2 separate regions of the Homo sapiens genome follow, and region 1 is linked to region 2. The links are contacts of gene promoters, found by promoter capture Hi-C in human tissues and cell types (Jung and others, 2019). All regions are on one chromosome and are shown on one strand. The core of a region is centred on a gene start or on the middle of the fragment in contact, and the rest is flanking DNA. Distances in the headings are between cores, read along the strand shown. Region 1 overlaps QRICH2 (glutamine rich 2). Region 2 holds the start of UNK (unk zinc finger).

Region 1 (7,433 bases), core at 3,624-6,123, 510 kb after region 2:
TAAGCTTGACATAAAGAAACACACTGATGGGAGGCCGAGGCGGGTGGATTACTTGAGATCAGGAGTTCGAGACCAGCCTGACCAATATGGTGAAACCCTATCTCTACTAAAAATACAAAATTAGCCAGGCGTGGTGGCATGTGTCTGTAATCTCAGCTACTCAGGAAGCTGAGGCAGGAGAATTGCTTGAACCTGGGAGATGGAGGTTGCCGTGAGATTGTGCCATTGTGCTCCAGCCTGGGTGACAAGAGTGAAACTCCATCTCAAAAAAAAGAAAAGGAAAAGAAACACACTGACGTTCTGGGAGGCTAGGTCTCCATATTTTTGAGACTCTGCATATTTGAAAATGGCATGTACAAAAATATGTAATTTTTGTGGCCAGGTGCGGTGGCTTATGCTTATAGTCCCAGCACTTTGGGAGGCCAAGGCGGGTGGATCATTTGAGGTCAGGACTTTGAGACCTGCCTGGCCAACATGGCAAAACCCCATCTCTACTGAAAATACAAAAATTAGCTGGGTGTGATAGTGCATGCCTGTAATCCCAGCTACTCAGGAGACTGAGGCAGGAGAATCGCTTGAACCCGGGAGGTGGAGGTTGCAGTGAGCCGAGATTGCACCATTGCACTCCAGCCTGGGTGACAGAGTGAGACTCCTTCTCAAAAAAAAAAAAAAAAGTGTAATTTTTCTTCATAAAAGATGGGGAAAACTGCAAAATACAAGTGATCTCTCTGGACTTTTGCTTAGCCTTTAAATAAAGGACATAAGTAATTTATTAAGTTTAAAATATAAAGTCTGGGTCTGGCACGGTGGCTCATGCCTGTAATCCCAGCACTTTGGGAGGCCGAGGTGGGCAGATCACAAGGTCAAGAGATTGAGACCATCCTGGCCAACATGATGAAACCCCGTCTCTACTAAAAACAAATAAATAAATAAATAAATAAATAAATAAATAAAATTAGCTGGGTGTGGTGGCACGTGCCTGTCGTCCCAGCTACTTGGGAGGACAAGTCATGAGAATCGCCTGAACCCAGGAGGCAGAGGTTACAGTGAGCTGAGATCGCACCACTGCACTTCAGCCTGGGTGACAGAGCAAGACTCCATCTCAAAAAATAAATAAATAAAATAAAATAAAATATAAAGTTTGCTCCATTGTTGACCCATTGCTGCTGATAAAAGTGTATACTGGAATGCATGTAAACCATATATTTAAAATGTATAGGCTGGGCACAGTGGCTCACGCCTGTCATCCCAGCATTTTGGGAGACCAAGGCAGGTGGATCATTTGAGGTCAGGAGTTCAAGACCAGCTTGGCCAACATGGTGAAACCTGGTCTCTACTAAAAATATAAAATATTAGCCAGGTGTGGTACTGCACACCTGTAATCCCAGCTACTCAGGAGAATCACTTGAACCCAAAAGGCAGAGGATGCAGTGAGCCGAGATCACGCCACTGCACTCCAGCCTGTGCAACAGAGCGAGACACCATCTCAAAAAGAAATAAATAAATAAAATGTAAACATGCAAACCCATGGACCCAGAAACTCCATAGACAGGAATTTTCTCTATGAATCCTCACCAAAGGATGCCAAGCTATACATACAATGATGGGGTCTGCAGCATCTTGATAAAATAGATCATCAATAAGGGACTGAGATATTTCTGGTCACCAATACAGTAGATGCTATGAATCCATGAAAAAGAAGAATGAACCACTGCCATTTCCAGCCAAGATGAAGTTAACAGGGGCTGGATTTACCCTCCTGTCTGTGACAAGAAAAAACAAAACTGAGGCTGGGCGCAGTGGCTCACGCCTGTAATCCCAGCACTTTGGGAGTCCGATGTGGGTGGATCATGAGGTCAGGAGTTCAAGACCAGCCTGACCAACATGGTGAAACCCCGTCTCTACTAAAAATACAAAAACTAGCTGGGTGTGGTGGCACATGCCTGTAATCCCAGCTACTTAGGAGGCTGAGGCAGGAGAATTGCTTGAACCCAGAAGTCGGAGGTTGCAGTGAGCCGAGATAGCACCATTGCACTCCAGCCTGGGAGACAGAGTGAGACTCTATCTCAAAAAAACAAACAAACCCAACAACAGCTATGAAACGGTGGTTTCCTACATACTGGATATCAAGTTATGAAGGACAATAATCCCCAAGCGGTGGAGAAAGGAAAACTGGGAAGCCTGTATCACCCTGGCTTGCTGCCTTGCTGGAGTTTCCAGACTGCAGTGCAGGGAGGGGGAATTGAGGTGGAGTCTGGCAGACTCTCTGAGTTGAGGAGACAGAAGTGAGCATTCAGGGAGATTCAGGCAACTGAAGGTCACAGGATAGAGTATCAGAAAGAAGGGAGTTATCCAGGCGTGGTGGCTCATGCCTGTAATCCCAGAACTTTCAGTGGGTGGATTACCCGAGGTTAGCAGTTTGAGACCAGCCTGGCCAACAAGGCGAAACCCCATCTCTACTAAAAATACAAAAGTTAGCCAGGCACAGTGGCACATGCTTGTAGTCGCAGCTACTTGGGAGGCTGAGGCAGGAGAATCACTTGAACCCAGGAGGCGGAGGTTGCAGTGAGCTGAGATCACACCACTGCACTCCGGCCTGGGCAACAGAGCATGGCTCTGTCTCAAAAAAAAAAAAAAAAAAAAATAACCAGAAAGAAGGGAGATGACAGAAAGCCCACTCCCACTCCAGAGGTCTGTGGAGGATCCCCTCCGAGTGATGAGCACGCATTTGATGAGTACATGCATGTGGGGAGACGTCCCAAGATTGGGGAAAGAACCACCTGCAGGGCTTGAAGAAGCAGTGCCCTGCCTGCCATGGGGCTGGAAATGGTGCCTGTTCTTATCAACCAGTTTGGAAAAACTCATCATTCAAGTAGCACAGAGCAGAGTGTACTCAGAAAAGTGTTGCCTCAGAAATGGAGAATAATCAGCCCTAGACTGAACACACCTATGGACCCACCTAACAAATCATAAAATCATAAAAGCAAGGCCTGAAGCAATCAAACTGTTTTTAAGTAGCTGTGTCCTGGGGGAAACAGGCTCAATAAAATGTATAAGAATACAAAAATATGGCCGGGTGTGGTGTCCCACACCGGTAATCCCAACACTTTGGGAGGCCAACGCGGGAGGATCACCTGAGTGCAGGAGTTCGGAACCAGCCTGGCCAACATGGTGAAACCCCGTCTCTACTAAAAATACAAAAATTAGCCAGGCATGGTGGCACACACCTGTAATCCCAGCTACTCAGGAGGCTGAGGCAGGAGAATCGCTTGAACCCAGGAGGCGGAGATTGCAGTGAGCAGAGATTGTGCCACTGCACTCCGGCCTGGGCGACACAGCAAGACTCCATCTCAAAAGAAAAAAAAAATACAAAAATATGTACCATCCAATGCAGGAAAAGTCACAATGGCTGGCACCTGATCAAAGATTGCCAGGCATACAAAGAGGCAGGAAGACATGACCCATAATGAGGAGATAACTCAACCAACTGAGACCAACTCAACACTGGCATATGTGTTAGAATTAGCAGAGATGGATATTAAAACAGTTATTATGGCTACACACACACAAGCACACACTTTAGAGACAGGGTCTCACTCTGTCACTCAGTCTGGAGTGCAGTGGCATGATCACAGCTCACTGCAACCTTTAACTCCTGGGCTCAAGCAATCTTCCCCCTTCAGCCTCCCAAGTAGCTAGGACTACTTAGGAATCTGTTTTTTTTTTTTTTTTTTTTTTTTTTGAGACAGAGTCTTGCTGTGTCACCCAGGCTGGAGTGCAGTGGCACAATCTCAGCTCACTGAAACCTCCGCCTCCAAGTTTCCAGTGCCTCAGCCTCCTGAGTAGATGGGATCACAGGCACGCACCACCATGCCCGGCTAATTTTTTGAATTTTTCAGTAAAGATGGGGTTTCACCATGTAGGCCAGGCTGGTCTTGAACTCCTGACTTCAGGTGATCCATCCACCTCAGCCTCCCAAAGTGCTGGGATTACAGGCATGAGCCACGCTGCCTGGCTTTCTGGCTAATTTTTTTTTTTTTTTTTTTTGAGACGGAGTCTCACTCTGTCACCCAGGCTGGAGTGCAGTGGTGCAATGTCGGCTCACTGCAAGCTCCACCTCCCGGCGCCATTCTCCTGCCTCAGCCTCCCGAGTAGCTGGGACTACAGGCGCCCACCACCACGCCCGGATAATTTTTTTGTATTTTTAGTAGAGACGGGGTTTCACCGTGTTAGCCAGGATGGTCTTGATCTCCTGACCTGGTGATCCGCCCGCCTCAGCCTCCCAAAGTGCTGGGATTACAGGCATGAGCCACTGCCCCCGGCCACGTGACCTTTTAAAAACTTTTTGTAGAGACGGGGTCTTAATATGTTGCCTAGGCTGGTCTCAAACTCCTGGCCTCAAGCACTTCTCCCGCCTTGACTTTAAGTACTGGAATTAAAGGCGTGAGCAACCATGTCTGACCTCTTTGTCTTTTTTTTAAGACAGAGTCTCGCTCTGTCGCCCAGGCTGGAGTTCAGTGGCGCGATCTCGGCTCACTGCAACCTCTGCCTCCCGGGTTCAAGCGATTCTCCTGCCTCGGCCTCCCGAGTAGCTGGGATTACAGGCGCATGCCACCACGCCCGGCTAATTTTTATATTTTTAGTAGAGATGGGGCTTCACCATATTGGTCAGGCTGGTCTCAAATTCCCGACCTCAAGTGATCCGTCTGCCTCGGCTTCCCAAAGTGCTGGAATTATAGGTGTGAGCCACAGCGCCCGGCCCTGAGTGTAGTTTTTATTTGCTTTTGTAGCTTTTCAAACTTTCTTTACAGTCTGTCCTGAAATGCAGGGATCTTTCCTTATTAGTGGGCCATGGTGACAGACCCTGGAAATAAAACTTCTGTAGGGGGCCCTCTGCTGATGGCAACTTTTGCACACAGGCATGCATCTGTCTGTCTTGAGACAGTGTACAGATGACCAAATTGTTTTCCGATCGCCAACCTACCTTCACCTGAATAAAATCAAGCTGAATATGTTCAAATGGCCCTCAAAGATGAGGCTTAACTTCCCTTTTGGTCTTGACATCCCTCCCGCTGGCTTTGGGCTAGTGGGTTATCAAAACAAGCAAGCCAACTTTGAGGGCCATTTGAAAATGTAGACGGAAGCAGGGTGAAGAGTAAAGCTTTTGGCGCCACCAAGTGGCCATCTTGGGGAGCGCCAAATATCTGGGTACAAAAGACAACCTGGGATCTCCAGGACCATTTTCTGATTTCAGGGCTCATTCTCAGAGGAAAGCGGCATCAGAAAGATGTTGCAAGAGGGGCCGGGCGCGGTGGCTCCAGCCTGTAATCCTAGCACTTTGGGAAGCCGAGGCGGGCGGATCACCTGAGGTCAGAAGTTCGAGCCCAGCCTGGACAACATGGTGAAACCCTGTCCCTAGTAAAAATACAAAAATTAGCTGGGCGTGATGGTGGGCGCCTGTAATCTCAGCTACTCGGGAGACTGAGGCAGGAGAATCATTTGAACCCAGGAGGTGAACGTTGCAGTGAGCCAAGATTGCGCCACTGCACTCCAGCATGGGCGACAAAGCAAGACTGTCTCAAAAAACAAAACTAAACGATATTGCAAGAGGACCCTGAACACAAAAGGAATGGACTAGAAAAAAGTGGCCTCCACTTTCACTTTTTTAAAGCCAAACCTTTTTTTTTTTTGAGACGGAGTTTCGCTCTTGTTGCCCAGGCTGGAGTGCAGTGATGCGATCTCGGCTCACTGCAACCTCCGCCTTCCGGTGGTTTCAAGCGAGTCTCCTGCCTCAGCCTCCCGAATAGCTGGGACTACAGGCACACACCACCACGCCCAGCTAACTTTTTGTATTTTTAGTAGAGACGGGGTTTCACCATGTTGGTCAGGATGGTCTCGATCTCTTGACCTTGTGATCTGCCTGCCTCGGCCTCCCAAAGTGCTGGAATTACAGGCGTGAGCCACCGCACCTGGCCAAGCCAAATCTTTTTTGCACATGCCACTATCGTACTGTTTTTACCGAGCAGTACATCTTCTCAGGGTGATGGCGGCAGACACCATGAGACTTACACATAAGCATAGACACCTTTAAACATTTTTACTTCTCCAGAGGTAAGAAAGCATGTGCGTTTGATTACTGCTCATAATTATGAACAACTCCAAAAGCAAATAAAGATAAATATAAATATTAAAAGATTGTTGAGAAGCAAGAGAACAAGCTCTGGTAATGGCCACTTCAGCCCTCGCACAGACCAGGATGAAAGCAGTGGGGGAGTGCCACTAGCCCCAGGTAAGCACATACAACACACCTGAGACAAATATGACCTGAGACCAATTTGACCTGCCTGCATGGTTGGTAGAGTCCTTTAGCATAAACGTAAAATAAAGATTTTGAAACTGGGTGTTAACCTCCATTATGGGTTTTGGCAGACAGTGGTGACTTTATGGAAATTGTGCGGTGTGCCTGCATCATGAGTAGAGGGCCAGGATTGAGACTGGGTGCAGTGGCTCAATCCCAGCACTATGGGAGGCCAAGGCTGGCAGACTGCTCGAGGCCAGGAGTTTGAGACCAGCCTGGGCAACATGGCAAAAACCTTTCTACAAAATACAAAATATGACCAGGCATGGTGGCTCACGCCTGTAATCCCAGCACTTTGGGAGGCCAAGGCAGGCAGATCACCCGAGGTCAGGAGTTTAAGACCAGCCTGGCCAACACGGTGAAACCCCATCTTTACTAAAAATACAAAAAAATTAGCCGGGCGTGGTGGTGGGCACCTGTAATCCCAGCTACTCGGGAGGCTGAGGCAGGAGAATCACTTGAGCTCGGGAGGTGGAGGTTGCAGTGAGCCAAGATCATGCCACTGCACTCCAGCCTGGGCAACAGAGCAAGACTCTGTCTCAAAAATGCAAAATATTAGTCAGGTGTGGTGGCATGCACCTGTAGTCCCAGGTACTCAGGAGGCTGAGGTGAGAGGATCACTTGAGTCCAGGAGGTCGAGGTTGCAGTAAGCCCTTATGGTACCACTGCACTCCAGCCTGGGCAGCAGAGCAAGACTGTCTCAAAAATATTTTTTCTTTAACATGCCCTAACATTACAACAAATGAGCCAAAATCTTGAACAAAATATATGATAGGCCAGGGCGGTAGCTCATGCCTGTAATCCCAGCCCTTTGGGAGGCCGAGGCGGGTGGATCACTTGAGCTCTGGAGTTTGAGACCAGCCTGGGCAACATGACAACACCTTGTCTCTACTAAAAATACAAAAATTAGCTAGGTATGGTGGTACGCACCTGTGGTCCCAACTACCGGGGAGGCTGAGGCAGGAGGATTGCTTGAGCCCCAGAGGGGAAGGTTGCAGTGAGCCGAGATCACACCACTGCACTCCAGCCTGGGTGACGACAGAGACTCTGTCTCAAAAAAAATGAAGAAGTCCAT
Region 2 (7,318 bases), core at 716-3,215:
AAAAATCAGGTGGGCGTGGTGGCACACACCTGTAATCCCAGCTACTCAGGAGGCTGAGGCAGGAGAATTGCTTGAACCTGGGAGGCAGAGGTTGCAGTGAGCCGAAATCACACCACTGCACTCCAGCCTGGGCAACAGAGCAAGACTCTGCCTCAAAAAAAAAAAAAAAAAAAAAAAAAAAAGGCTGTCTCTCTTACTTCGTAGTCATGCAGGTATGTTTCACTTTTTCCAGATTGGTACAACGGAGGAAAAGCAACACAGGAAATGAGGAAGAATAAAAAATGTTTATACAATGAAAAAAAGCAGAAGAAAACAAAACAAACAAAACCCAACAGTGAATGTGATGTAGTCTTGTAGGCTACTGTCCTAGTTCCTCTTGTTACCAACTTGCTGAGTAACTTTGTGCAAGTTACTTAGCTTCTCTGGGTTTCGGTTTCCTCTTTTGTAAATTAAGCAGTTTGGATGATATCATCTCCCAACTCCACCAGTACACACTTATTCTGAAGCTCATGATATACATCTATTATTTAAAATCCAGTGCTGTGAACTCTATTTCTTCAGTCAGATCACACTTGAGTATTGTGAGGCTAACATAAACCAAGTAACTTGCGTTTAATCATAGGATTAAAGCAATATACTACAACTTTTATTTGTCCTTTTGTAATTTTTCATTTTCAAACGCCCCTAGTGGCTAAACGATTTAGCCTGTTTAGGAAAAACCAGTTTCTCAACTCTGTGATGTGGCTTCTGATGTGAGGGAACTTGGAGCTAAATAAAATAAGTATGTGTCACTCAAACATTAACGATTTTCCATTAGCCCCACCACCCTTCATCCCTAAGGTTATTTGGAATGTGTTTCTTTAATGAGATAATCATTTGTTAATATAATCCCATCTAAGAAAATATAAATCAAAACCAGTGGATTTGAAATAGATTCAATATGAAAAACCAAATTAAATGACAACGGTTAAAATATCTACGGAGAACATTCTAAAACTCACAGAAACAAATGCCTAGGTCTGGGGCATCTGGCTTATTTTATAAAGTGAAGAACTTTGCTTGACTGGTGGGAAGCAGAGAGGGGAAAGATAATGTCCCAAGTAAAAAGGCTGACGTCCAGACAAGAAAACTAGAGTGGATAAATACGGGCACGCCCTACTCAAACCCAGGCCTTTCCTCTGGACCCTGTGATGCTTCTCAACACTGGCAACTTGTCAGTGTACCTCAGAGACTATTCTAGGCGGAGATTAAATTCGTCCTTGGCCCTTAATGTACTGGAAACAAGTTGGTCAGGCCAGGTGTCAGGCTGAGAAAGCACACAAGTCGTGGAGTTCCAGGTGTCGAGTTTGGCAAAGGTAAATGAAGCGCCTCGGCAAAGGCGCGGGAACTGTAGCGTGCGGTGTACCTCCTCCTTAGCAAAGCTTTCTCAATGCCTCTTAGGTTAGACCCGCCGCAGGGATGAAGGGGTTGCTGGCGGATTGCAGGTGCCTGCAGCACAGGGCCCAGAACTAAGAACCGACAACACAGATTCTTAAGCCCTGCTTGGAGCACTGCTCTGAGCTGGCATTAGAACCGAACCTAGCTGTACTAAGTATAAAGGCAAAGTAGTTATGACACTGTTGGCAGTGAAATTATACTTGGAACTCTTTCGCAGAAATCGCTAGGGCCTCCCTAGCTCTGGGCCCCTTCTCCTCCAGGCGCTCCAGTTTCATGGAAAGGCTTCCCTATGAAACTGAAAACGCGCTGGTAAGAAGGAGAAATGCGACCGGACTGCAATTCCCAGAAGCCGTCGCAGGCCCTCAGCATCCGGGACACTAGCAGCAAGGATCCCTGGGTATTGTGGTCCTGTGCTTTGCCAGCAACCCTCTGCCGACGGTAAAATTCCAGCCGGACATAGAACCACAACTCCCAGCAACCCCTGCTGCCGTGTGGGGGGTCTTCACGTTCTCGTGGCGCGGCGCAGGCGCACTGGGTCCTCGGCGCGGACCGCGCAGACTGAATAATAAAAGGGGAGCGGCGAAGAGGCAGGAAGACAAGACCATGTCGAAGGGCCCCGGGCCCGGCGGCTCCGCAGCTTCCTCGGCGCCCCCGGCCGCTACCGCTCAGGTGCTGCAGGCACAGCCCGAGAAACCGCAGCACTACACGTACGTAGAGCCCCCCCCCCCCCGCCGCGCGCGCACGCCTGACGTCAGCGGCCAGCGTGAGTCACGCGCGCAGGGAGAGCGCGAGGCGGCCTCTTCCTCCCCCCCTTCCTCCTCCGGCCCGGCCCAGACCGGTTCCAACCTGCTGGGGCCGGTCCCAACTGCCTCCAACTGCCACCAACCTCTGGTCGGGCTGTGGGGCGGGAAACTCGGTCCCGGCCGCCGAGTGGGGAAGGCGGGAGCTCGGGATGCAGAGTGCACTCTCCCTAGGCCAGGCCTTCGAGGCCTAACTGTTCCTCAGACCATAAAACCACAGTAGTAGGCTCCTTTGGGGCAGTGAGAAGTCCAAGACACAACCAAGAGGAGTTCCGTGGGGTCCAGCCCCAGAACCCACCTATGAATGATGATTAACGTGAAGTCCTGTCAGGAGATTCCGTGCAGTTTGCGCAGGAAGCCTTTTGTGTCCCTAAGGCTCGTAGGTTGTCCACGAGGGCCACACTTGCTTGAATTCACAGTCGACGTAGATAAACATGCAAAGATGGAAACGTGTCCGTGCGTGCCCATGACCGTTTCCCTCGCGGGCTGTGCGGAGCCTGAGTCTGGGAGCCCGAAGGTGATGGGTTCCAAGTATGTCTGCAGGCTCAGCAGAAATGTAGCATTAGAGGGAGCCCCAAATACTGACACTACAGGAGTCCAGCAGGATGGGAAAACCTCTTCCTGGAAGTCTTGCATCTGTGTGCTTTTAGGTCGCTGTCTTCATTTCCTTCAAGCCACGTTAAGCATTCCCTAGAGTTAGGTGATGTGGGAGAAAGATGAATAAGGGGCGGTTTCTCCTGTTAAGCAAAATGTTGCTTTCCATTTTCCCTGATGCTCTGTGAATGCCTCTCATCCCCATGGGCTCCTGAGTGATGTGCATGTTTAAAAGGATCCCCAGCTGCGAGAGGTTTTGGAACCTGGGGGGTTGAACAGCTCTTAAGTTGTTCAGTGAACGAAGAACAGAATCATCTGTTGGAGTAGAAAGAACTCAAACCAGTCAGGAGGAACTCTTGTTATAGAAGACCTTGGGAAACTGTTCTGGGGTTGGGGAACATTGGTTATAGGAAGTGTATGGTTTCTTTGTGGGATTCTTTGTTGTTGGCTGAAATCATTTAAGCTTCTTGACTACAGTCTGACTCACGTTAACCATTCCTTTTCTGATATGGACATTGCTTTCCTGGTCCTTTCTTACTGGAGATCTTTCGCAGTCTTTCCATTGATTTTGGTGAGATGTTCTTAGCTCAAAGACTACTGATGAGTTGAATGGTGTAGTCTTGATTTTCGAATCTGGAAACTTCACGTAATTGGAACTTCTTTATAATCTCTGGTTGCTCAGATCACTGTTTTTAGCAAAATAAACACATTTTGAGTCACGAGAGTCTTGGCTTCAGCAACTTGTGTTTCTGTGTTGTGTTGTCATTGAGCATACTATGGAATCTGTAATAGAAAGGCTTTCTTATTTTGGAATTGACAGGTGAAACAAGTGAACAGCTGATTAAATGTCAGTATCTGAGTCTTTGTCCTCTTGATGCTCATTTGTTTAAAACCTGTCTTTCCTGCCGGGCGTGGTAGCTCTCACGCCTGTAATCACAGCATTTTGGGAGGCCGAGGCGGATCGCATGAGGTCAGGAGTGAAGAGACCAGCCTGCCCAATATGGCAAAACCCCGTCTCTACTAAAAATACAAAAAATTAGCTGGGTGTGCTGGCGGGCGCCTGTAATCCCAGCTACTCAGGAGGCTGAGGCAGGAGAATCGCTTGAACCCGGGAGGCGGAGGTGGCAGTGAGCCGAGATCGTGCCACTGCACTCCAGCCTGAGCGACAAGAGCAAAACTCCGTCTCAAAAAACAGAAACAAAAACAAAAAAAAAGCCTGCCTTTCCATTCCTTGTGGGTAAGTATAGAGTAATGGGACCTGGCTCTTGAGGTGTCTTAGGAAATCAACAGGAGTAGGTGAAATAGCCAAGCTTGATGGGAGGTTGTAGGTGTTCTTATCTCTTTGTCTGTTCATATGTATGTGTGTTTTTATATTTGTATTTCCAAAAATCAGAGATAGAAATCAGTGGTCTTTCTTGCTAGACTTACTAGCATTCAGAAGCTGTGATGACCTGGAAAACTTCATCCCCTAGTCCTCCTAGGGCTGAGGTGCAGGGAGCATGAGGACACATATGATGGAACCAGCACACTTGCTGGCTCTGATTTTTCTTTTTCTTTTTTTTAAGATAGGGTCTCTGTCATCCAGGCTATAGTGCAGTGTCACCATCTCAGCTCACTGTAGCCTCGACCTCCCTGGCTCAAGTGATCCTCCCACCTCAGTCTCCTGAGTAGCTGGGACTACAGGCACACCTGGATACATTTTTTTGGTATTTTTTGTAGAGACGTGATTTTGCCATGTTGCCCAGCCTAGTCTCGAACTCCTGTGATCGAGCAGGCGCAAGCAATCTACTGTTGGGCCTTGGCCTCCCAAAGTGCTGGGAGGCCACCACACCCAGCTTTTTTTTTTTTTTTCCTCTTCTTAAAAGAGACATGGGCAGGGTGCGGTTGCTCACACCTGTAATCCCAGCACTTTGGGAGCCTGAGGTGGGTGGATCACTTGAGGTCAGGAGTTCGAGACCAACCTGGCCAACATGGAAACCCCGTCTCTACTAAAAATACAAAAAATTAGTCAGGCCTGGTGGCACACACCTGCAGTCCCAGCTACTCAGGAGGCTGAGGCAGGAGAATCGCTTGAACCCAGGAGGCAGAGGTTGCAGTGAGCAGAGATTGTGCCACTGCACTCCAACCTGGGTGACAGAGTGAGACTCGGTCCAAAAAAAAAAAAAAAGAGAGACGTGATCTCTCTGTGTTAACCAGGTGGACTTGAATTCCTGGGCTCAAGCAGTCCTGCCTTAGCCTCCTGAGTAGCTGGGACTACAGGCACATACCACCATACCTGCTTCCCTCCACCCCCATAAGGTGAATTCATTTATTGCCCTTGGGAGTTAGGGGGCGGGAGCATTTTGATTTTGATTTTAAATGAAAATTTGAGCTGCTTGGGAGGTAAACAGTGGGTACACATGGACATACGGAGTGGAATAATAATTGATCATTGATAATAATTGATCCCATTTTGAATACAGAGATAGACCCCTTTTGAATATTTGTAAGTTTTTGCCTGTCAATTTTTTCTTTTTTTTTTTTTTGGAGACAAAGTCTCACTCTGTTGCCCAAGCTGGAGTGCAGTGGCGTGATCTCAGTTTACTGCAACCTCCACCTCCCGGGTTTAAGCAATTCTCCTGCTTCAGCTTCCTAAGTAGCTGGGACTGCAGGCACACGCCACCATGGCTGGCTAATTTTTGTATTTTTAGTAGAGACAGGGTTTCACTGTGTTGGCCAGGCTGATCTCGAACTCCTAACCTCGTGATCCGCCCACCTTGGCCTCCCAAACTGCTGGGATTACAGGCGTGAGCCACTGTTCCCGTCTGCCTGTCAAATTTTTTACCTTTTTAAACTTTTATTTATTTATTTAGTTGTATTTTTAGTAGAGATGGGGTTTCACCATGTTGGTCAGGCTGGTCTTGAACTCCTGACCTCGTGATCTGCCCGCCTCGGCCTCCCAAAGTGCTGGGATTACAGGTGTGAGCCACCGCGCCCAGCCACTTTTATTTTTATTTTTAATTTTTTTTTTAAATTTATTTTTGTCACCCAGGTTGGTTGGACAGAGCAAGAGACAGGATCTTGCTCTGTCACCCAGGCTGGTGTACAGTGGCATGGGAAGGCGTGAGCCTGAGAAGGTGTGAGCCACCTCACCTGGACTTTCTTATACATTAATTAATTTTGTATAGTTTTATACCTGATGTTATTTGAAATTAGGTAACATGCTGTAGTCTTTGCAATAATCCAGAGACACTTGTGTGATAATTGAGTCTCACTCACCATAACAGTAATCTTGGCAAACACAGTTGAATACACTAAAAGCAAAAAATTATGTTGCCATTGGTTTCCCTTTCTTGCCCTTCATTCTTGTGCTGAAATTAAAGTTCTTAGAGTTTGAGCCCTCCTTTTCCTAAACCAAGAGGATTATTCATAACATAGTTTAAAGGATAATTTTGTTGATTTTTTTTTTCTAAACTCTTGAATAATCTTGCTTTAAGGGAAACTTTGGAATAATCCTTTCAGCAAATTGGTGTAGCAGGCACTTGTGCTGGACTTAGGAATCCAGTCCTTTTAGAAAACAGTTATGTCAGAAGTTCCTTTATTGTACAGCTCCAAGTATTTGCTTAGCACTTAGTAAAACGATAATGTATATGTATTATTATTCTTCCAATACAAGAACCACATGACCTCTTTTTTTTTTTCTGAGACCGAGTCTCGCTCTGTTGCCCTTGGCTGGAGTGCAGTGGCGCGATCTCGGCTCACTGCAAGCTCCGCCTCCTGGGTTCACGGCATTCTTCTGCCTCAGCCTCCCCAGTAGCTGGGAGTACAGGCGCCCGCCACCATGCCCAGCTAATTCTTTGTATTTTTAGTAGAGATGGGGTTTCACTGTGTTAGCCAGGATGGTCTCGATCTCCTGAACTCGTGATCTGCCCGTCTCGGCCTCCCAAAGTGCTGGGATTACAGGCATGAACCACTGCGCCTGGCCTGTGACCTCCTTTTACTAGACAGTTTGTCTTTTAATTTGACAAATAATGAATTTAATTCAGCTTTGTTTATAACATACTGTCTTGTATATTGGAAGAGTTTTATAAAAACGTTTAAGAATGAGGAGAACTTTTGTAGCAATCACGTCTCAAAATGTATCTACAAGTTTAGCTACCTTTTGGCTTTTTGCTGTATTAACAGTTATACTATTGAAAGTGTATAGCTGAGCAGGGCGTAGTAGCTCACATCTGTAATCCCAGCACTTTGGGAGGCTGAGGTGGGCGGATCATGAGGTCAGGAGTTCGAGACCAGCCTGGCCAACGTGGTAAAACCCCCGTCTCTACTAAAAATACAAAAAAATAGCTGGGCATGGTGGCGGGCGCCTGTAATCCCAGCTACTGAGGAGGCTGAGGCAGGAGAATCATTTGAACCTGGGAGGCGGAGGTTGCAGTGAGCCGAGATCGCGCCATTGCACTCCAGCCTGGGTGACAGGACTAGACTCCGTCTCAAACAAAAACAAAAAA

Evidence for each region. Contacts are between HindIII fragments. The study calls those that stand out against the background at their distance.
Region 1: a contact is called between a fragment that was not itself captured here and the fragment with the promoter of UNK in region 2, in 1 of the 25 tissues and cell types used here (hippocampus).

What each region holds. Positions count from the first base shown.
Region 1 is chr17:76,294,155-76,301,587 of GRCh38, forward strand. The region is part of intron 3 of QRICH2 (glutamine rich 2); the gene reads right to left. Among named protein-coding and RNA genes, the nearest start is that of QRICH2, 10 kb to the right of the region's middle. The HindIII fragment of the contact is 4,582 bases long and covers 2,583-7,164 here.
Region 2 is chr17:75,782,841-75,790,158 of GRCh38, forward strand. It overlaps UNK (unk zinc finger), which reads left to right and starts at 1,966. Exons shown (of 16, transcript NM_001080419.3): 1 at 1,966-2,144. The coding sequence starts at 2,041. It overlaps MIR4738 (microRNA 4738), which reads right to left and starts at 1,767; the gene lies at 1,681-1,767. RefSeq lists enhancers at 318-497, 2,060-2,638, 2,228-2,627, 2,639-3,216 and a silencer at 2,028-2,167. The HindIII fragment of the contact is 5,813 bases long and covers 1-3,717 here.